Linked DNA regions of Homo sapiens: region 1 is linked to region 2. Evidence: promoter capture Hi-C in human tissues and cell types (Jung and others, 2019). All regions are on one chromosome and are shown on one strand. The core of a region is centred on a gene start or on the middle of the fragment in contact, and the rest is flanking DNA. Distances in the headings are between cores, read along the strand shown.

Evidence for each region. The method cuts DNA at HindIII sites, captures the fragments that hold promoters and counts their contacts. A contact is called where the count stands out against the background at its distance.
Region 1: a fragment that was not itself captured here is called in contact with the fragment with the promoter of NMT2 in region 2 in 1 of the 25 tissues and cell types used here (pancreas).

The regions. Positions count from the first base shown.
Region 1 is chr10:14,180,370-14,184,004 of GRCh38, forward strand. All of the region lies in intron 2 of FRMD4A (FERM domain containing 4A), which reads right to left. LOC124902378 (a long non-coding RNA gene) reads left to right here and starts at 2,521. Exons shown (of 2, transcript XR_007062060.1): 1 at 2,521-2,602. RefSeq lists an enhancer at 881-1,175. The HindIII fragment of the contact is 3,305 bases long and covers 1-3,019 here.
Region 2 is chr10:15,166,596-15,170,377 of GRCh38, forward strand. NMT2 (N-myristoyltransferase 2) reads right to left here and starts at 2,098. Exons shown (of 12, transcript NM_004808.3): 1 at 1,908-2,098. The coding sequence starts at 2,017. RefSeq lists a silencer at 1,468-2,297. The HindIII fragment of the contact is 12,871 bases long and covers 1-3,782 here.

The DNA.
Region 1 (3,635 bases), core at 117-2,616, 990 kb before region 2:
CACCCTCTCTTTTTCCCCAAGTATGGATAGAAGGCTAGCAAAGGCGGTACAAGCAGAATTTTGAAATGCGCATGGGAAAGATACACCCACGCTAGTCTGCTGATTCCAACGGGAGGATAACAGAAGACCCAACCTCCATTACAGACTTACGAGCAAGCCAGAGAATCACAAATGAGTGAGACTAGCCAAGATCAGCTGAGCCCAGCCTACATCAGCAAAACTCTACAGTCTTCTGAAAAACCAATGCCTATTACTGTGTGGCACCAGGCATTGCATTTGTTATGCAGCCAATGGATACGATTCCTAATCCAAGATGAGAGTTCCTAAACTGTGGAGCAGAGCTGACTAGAACTCCAAACGCAGGTTTTCTCACTCCAAAAATTTCAAGTTCTTCCAATGCTGTCACATTTCTGTGGCTCACCCATGCGCAGTGATGGGTTGTATGATTACTATTTTCCAGACCCCAGATCAATGTCTAAGCTCCAAGACACACATTCCGGCACTTCTATGTTATTGAATGTCAAGTATAGGATCTACTGTATTTTATTTACAATTCCTTAAAATTGTGGCACACTGAGGAAAACACGGTATGAGGTTCTATGCCTTGATCAGTCATCTCGTCTTTATGATCTTTTAGACTCTGCCCCATTTTCTAAAGAACAGCAATTGCCTAAAGTTATCAGCAATCGGTACAGAAGTTAATTGGAATCTAGCCCTTGGAGACTTTTCCCTTCAGCAGTTCTTGCCTTTCCGAAAAAGTGTCTCACAGTGGGAAAAATAAAACTGCTTTTCTTCATTATCATAAACACTTCAGCTGGAAATGGTTCTCTACCTGCCCCGATGTTTTATGAAAACATCTAAAGAGCAGAGTGACATTATTTTCCCGTGTTTGAAAAGAGGTATTTCCACTTTTTTCTTTTTTTTGTTTTTTTCCTTAAGGTTTGTGGTTTAAGTACTTTTGTCAAGAGGGAGAAGAAAACCGACAGCTGCTGCAGCCCCAGATCGCTGCCCCGTGTTTGCTCAGAAGACCTCTGGGAGCCCAGATAAGGAGAAAGCTGAGAGACAGGCATCTGGGCGGAAGCAATGCCTCCTTCTTCCCGTCGTCACAGAGGGGAAGCAGTTGGATGTTCCTGCAAAGTTAGCATGCAGGGTAGCATTTTTACCTCCCGCTTTTGTTGGGTTATTTCCAAGCTCCAAACTAAAGAATTGTGCGACAGAAATTATGTAGGGAAACATTTTAATTTTTGACAAATAAAAATTGCACATATTTCTGGTATAAAACACTATGTTCTGATATATGTACGCATTGTGAAATGATTACCATGAATTTTTTTTATTTGAGATAGGGTCTCACTCTGTTGTCCAGGCTGGAGTGCAGGGGCACAATCACAGCTCACTGCAACCTCGGCTTCCTAAGCTCAAGCAATCCTCCTGCCTCAGCCTCCCCAGCAGCTGGGACTACAGATGTGCACCAACATGCCCAGCTAATTTGTGTACTTTTAGTTGAGATGGGGTTTTGCCATATTGACCAGGCTGGTCTTGAATTCCTGAACTTGAGTGATCTGCCCGTCTCGGCCTCCCAAAGTGCATGCTGGGATTACAGACGTGAGCCACGGTACCCGGACTACATCTTTTCTTGATATTTCTGTCAAAATGTTCAGGATTGTCACGACTTGGACAAACCACTTTCAAAAGCTTTGTTTATTTGTGGCTTTTTCTTTATAAGAGGCAACCCCAACACTACTACCAAACTGCCGTATAATTGTTTATCAAACCTAGACTGGGGAGGGGACAAAAATGATAGTGATCAATGGAGATGGGAGTTGACACAGTTTCTGCTTCTAAGACTTCTTTGAACTCTCAAGCTGTGTTTTTAAAAAGAGAGAGAGATAGGGTGCAGTAGCACATGCCTGGAATCCCAGTGCTTTCGGAGGCTCAGGCAATGAAATTGCTTGGGGCCAGTAGTTCAAGACCAGCTTGGGTAACATAAGAAGACACTGTCTCTACAAAAAATAAAAAATAATAATAATAGCCAGGCAAGGTGGCACATGCCTATAGTTTCAGCTACTTGGAGGGCTAAGGCAGGAGGAGAGTTTGAGCCCAGGAGTTTGAGGCTGCAGTGATCTCTGATCTTGCCACTGCACTCCAGCCTGGACAACAGAGCAAGAGAAGTCTGACAAGACAAAAATTTTTTTTTTCTCTAATTGGCCTATCCTTCATGGTAGGGGTGTGAAAGAGACCCCCATCATCTACCCTAAAAGTAACTCATGAACTCCTTGGTACAGGGATGTTCCTAGGTTCCTTCAAGGTGGACACATATGCTGAGAACCTCCTTTAAGGCAGGTTCGACCGGGGGCTCTGCCCTGAGGTTACCAGTGTGAAGAGTACAGGTGAAGGCTGTTGAAAAATTTAAGAACTCCAAGGATTAGAGGTAACAATCACAGAAACCTTCTGAATTCTACTGAGTGAGAACTAGCAGGAGGGTTGAACAATTCAAGTGGAAGCAAACGTTGGGAGAAGTACTCATTTCACCTGGGATTGTTGATTAGGCTGCTTCAAGGGAAATCCTATTCTTGAAGGTGGCTTTGACCATCTGGAGGAGGTTAGGATGTTGGTGCGTGGGGCTGTCGTAAGCAGGATGGGGTGGAGATGTGTAGGAGGTGAGGGAGGACTTCAGACAGAGAGACTGACCCATGCTGAAAAAGCATAGAGCTAGGCAGTAACATATTTGAAGAGAAAAACAAGAACACTGAAGTTTACAGAGTGCTGATAAGTGATCTCCAGATTATATGGTCTTAGACTCGATTTTTCTTAATTTAAAATTGAATTTACACCTCACTTTATTTGAAAAGTTATGTGTCATGCACGAATGAAATAATGTGCAGACAGAGTTCACTTTATATCATTAGTGGTGTCTTGGAAAGTTACACATTAATTTATTTAGAAATCTGCAGGAAATTCCTTTATGTTATAAAAGCTCATTCTTCTAAGTTATTCTAATTTTACAAGTTGGAATGGGCCATGCCTGCAGAGTGTTTGATGGTCCCTTTAACAGTACTGGGATTGTCTAATAATGGAATTATGTTTACAATGTGACCTTTCAAACAATAAATGTGCCTCAATGTGCATTATCTTCATAGCTCTAAGGAGTTGTTTCTTTTTTTTTTTTCAAATCACTCCTGTGTCTTAAATTTCCTTGGCCAGCTTCAACCTGAGGCACAAAGGAAAGTAATTGCTTGATTCAATTTCTCACTGTGTCAAAATAATGAAATTGATGGGCATCTTTTACTCCCAAACCTGGAAATGCACTCTATTTTGCAAATTGAATCTTAACCATGGTATCTAAATATGTTCATTAAAAGCAAAACTACTGTCTTTTAAAAATGTTCATAAACAGAGACACTCATGCCTGAGGTCATAAAGCCAAGTTGGCATTTTGATCAGGTGTGAAGAATATTTCTGTCTCAATTTTAGTAAGACATGATTTTTCTGACTCAGTACCTCAGCATAACCTAAGAAACCAAACTTTGTGAACAGTATTGACTTTAAACATCATAGTAATCATAAGAACAAAGAGAAATTATGAGATATGGAAAATAGCTCCAGAAACAAAGGCTTAATTTGAAAACTTTGCT
Region 2 (3,782 bases), core at 848-3,347:
TTACATTTAAATAGAGTACAATACATCCATTATGTTAATCTTTTCCCACTAGAAGCTATTAACATGGTATCTGCTCTTGGTGAAAACATTTCAGTCCATGGGGCATCTCTAAATTTTGATTAACCTTTCTAATATATAAAATGTGCTGATATACAAAACTGAAAACTTCCGAAGGCAGCACAGATGCCTCTGGGTGCTACTCTGGGAACTTTAGCTTCTTGAAAGGTGTCGGGGGACAGGCTCAGATCAATGCGCACACAGATGAGGAATTCTTTGTACCAGGGGCATTCTCAACAGTGTAAGCAAAGAAGTCCTAATCAAGCCCCCAACCTAGAATATCAATCAAAGGAGGAACAATAAACAGAAATTACAGCAGAGAAGATAAAAGTCCAGGGTCTCTCCAGAAAGAAAACACAGGTACTGAAGCTAATCCATCAGCTTGCATCTGCACCTGGGCCCATTTCTGGCAATAGAACTACCGTTTCAAAAACATATTTGTATTTAGCTATCTATCACAAACACGTTTCTATCCCTGCATAAACAGGGCTCAGGTTCAGATTCCTATGCAATTTCCTTTCCTCTCTTTAAAAAAAAAAATATTCTAGACTCGAACATTCGATACTTGCAGCCGCCACTGAAGTATTCACGGCAAAGATAAAAACAACTTGCAAATGGGAGATGCACATAGTCAGCTTTTCTTTTTCTTCATTTGTTAATATTTTATAATGAATTAGAGGTCAGTCAAAAGTCCCTTTCTATAATAAATCTTAAAGTAGACAAGTAGAATGCAAATGATTTACACTTTCAATGATCAATCATTTCAAGAATCTCTCTACGAACTGAGTAAACCATCTGTGACTCAGGCCTCCCTATCATGTTTTTTAAGCTGACCCACTTCTCCATCACTCACCATGGTTCGAAAAATCTCACTTCTAAGGGTGTAGCAAGAACCGCTCTGTGCCAGCGCATAGTTTGAATCCAATAGGGTAAAAGGGTAATGTAAACAGCACTTTAAAAGGACACCAGTTTTTATTTAAAATGACCCACTGCCTCTAAAAAGAGAGCATCAACACCGGCCTTCACCTGAAGCAATCCTTTTCTCCAACAGAAGAGCAAATCAAGTCTGCAGGGTTCGGGGGCAAAGGGAAAGGATTAAGAAATCCGATCAAGTGTGAAAATGCGTGGTGCATCGAGTTTTGGAGATCAAATACCAGCTTTGCAAACAGGATACGGCCAGGTCAGCGGGAGCCCGGTTCAGGGGATCGGCCCTGCTCTGAAGAGCTCTAGGGACAGGCGAGGCGGTGCAAAGCCCAGTATCCCCAGCAGGGGCCGGGCCCGGGACCCCCTCGGCGCCAGAACTTTGCGCAGTTCGCCGCCTGCGGCCCCGACACCATCGGGGCACCTCCACGCCGCTCCACCCACGTCTTTGCCCATTCTTTTCGGGTGGCGGCTGCGGAGAGGGAGTCTGAAGGGACTTAACAAGGATGGCAGGGAGCAGAGGAGGGCGACCTCCTACCCCAGGCTGCGGCCGCCACAAAGGGAAGGGCGTAGCGCCTCTCCTCGGCGCCCACCGGAGCCACCCGCGGGCGAGGGCAACAGGCGCCTCCTGGGCCAGGCCGCCGGCGGGGATGGGCGAGGCTGGCCGGGGGCGCGCGGCAAGTGACAGTAGCGTCTCCCCGCCCGGGCCCCAGCCTCCCCGCCCACCCCGGGCCTCGCCTCCCCGCGCACTGCACTCTCCCGCGAGCCGCGCGCCCCGGACCTCACCATGGGCTCCGCGCCACGGAGAAGCCATCGCGGGGCGGAGCGGCCGAAGAACCCCCAGTCCTGGGAGCCACCCCCGAACGGGAGACCGTGGCGCGCGCGGTCCCCGCCCTGTCGCGCCCGGTGCGCCAGCGCGCCGCCCCTACCCTTTGGCGTGCTCCGTCTCCTCCTCATTGTCCCCGTCTATCCCGCACGTGTCCTGGTCGTCCAGTTCCAGGCTCTGCTGGCTGGCCGCAGACTCGCTGTCCTCCGCCATCGCGGCGGCGCTGGCTGGGGAGGCGGTGCTCGGGGCCGGGCCGGAGCGGCCGCAGCTCCCTCTAGTGCCTCCCGCCGTACTGCTTGGAGTCGGAGCCCGGGCGCTACGCCCCGCCCCGCCCCGCCCGCGCCCCGTCCCGCCCTCCGTCCCGCCCCCTCCCCGCCCTCCGTCCCGCCCCGCCCTCCATCCCCGCCCCTCACCGTCCGCGCCCAGCCCGCCGGCCCCGCCCTGCCCGCCGGCCCCGCCCTGCCCCACGGGCTTGAACCCCGCCCACCTCTTCGTCCCTCCCCACCAAGCCCCGCCTCTCCCCGTCCCGCCGGCTTCAATCCAGCTCTCTAACCCCGCCCGCCTCTGAGACCCCTCCCCTCCAGCCCCGCCTTTCCCCACCCTGCCGGCTTCAAACCCGCCCTCTAACCCCGCCCACCGCCGCAGCCCCTCCCAGATGGCCCCGCCCCTCCCCGCCCCGCCAGCTCCAACCCTGCTCACCCTGGCCAGCCCTGCACAGGGCCGAGTCCTGTACATCCAGGCCTGCGCGGTGCCTCTGCCTGGGGCTCGGCTCTCAAAGCTGCAAACGTGCAGACTTGACATCCTGAGTGGCGGCATTTTTGGAACACAGGCCATGCGATTTTACTTCTGGACGAATTAGGGAGCGCTCCCAGCCCGTGCAGGGGTTTTTCCCACTCAGGAGTAGGCACTCAGGGATGGGGCTTTCCAGAAACTCTTCCCGCCCCTCCACATACATGTTAACAATTCCATTTCGCATCTATCTATCCATCTAATACATTATAAAATCAAATTCAAAGTCAAAAACAGTATTTCCAGCCCTCCACCGCCCTGTCCCAACCAGGCTTGCAGCACTAAAACTCTTGACAGAAATTTTTGAGCTACCCCTGCTTTCCCTGGACACTACTACGGACGGCTCAGACCAGAACAGACATCTTGAGGGACTTGGGGACGTGTCCACGATGCTGGGGGATTGGACAGTTTCAGGTAGGCTACCCTGGCTTTCCCAAAGTCAAGGTCATGACCTAGATTTCCAAGCAAACGTGCACGGCCTTCTGTGCTGAAATTGTCCGCTGTCTCTCTCAGAAGAGGGAAGGGAGGCATTCTGTAGTACTGCCAAATAGAAGACCGGTGAAGTTCAGCCTCTCTTATTTGCTACTGCATTCTGTACAGAGCAGTCCTGTCCTTTGCTTTGCTGAGATGATCTTGTTCAAATGTGCTGCTAGGCCACCGGAAGTCTCCGCAGTGGTTTTGCAAAGATAATCATCAGAACCCGCTCAGTGAGGAAAATGAGACTTTAAAGAGCCACCTGAATTTTTTGGTGTGGGTCCTTTTTTTGCAGAAGATACTAGGAGCATTTTATGGCTTTTTTCCCCAAGGGAGACTATGTTTTTAAAACGCAATGAGCTAGAAGTATCAAAAGATGAAAACTGCAGAGCGATTTCAAAGCCCGTCAGCTGTTTGGCATTGAGACAACTAAAATTCTGTAAGAAGGGCAAATGGGGTCAAAACACAAAAGGAAATACAATATTGCCTTTAACAACGGCAACTATTTCTGAGGCAAAATGTCACATGTCACCTCTGTGAAACTTTAGGATAGAAGCAAATACAGATGAGTGAGGTTCCTGCAGCTCATCTCTGTGAACATGGATTGTTGGAGAACCCGCAGCCCGCTCGGGTAACCAACAGGAAACTGGCCAGGAGCAAGCCTATCAATCAAATCATCCACTCTAACCTGCCAGAAGGGTTCTCTAAAAGAGTT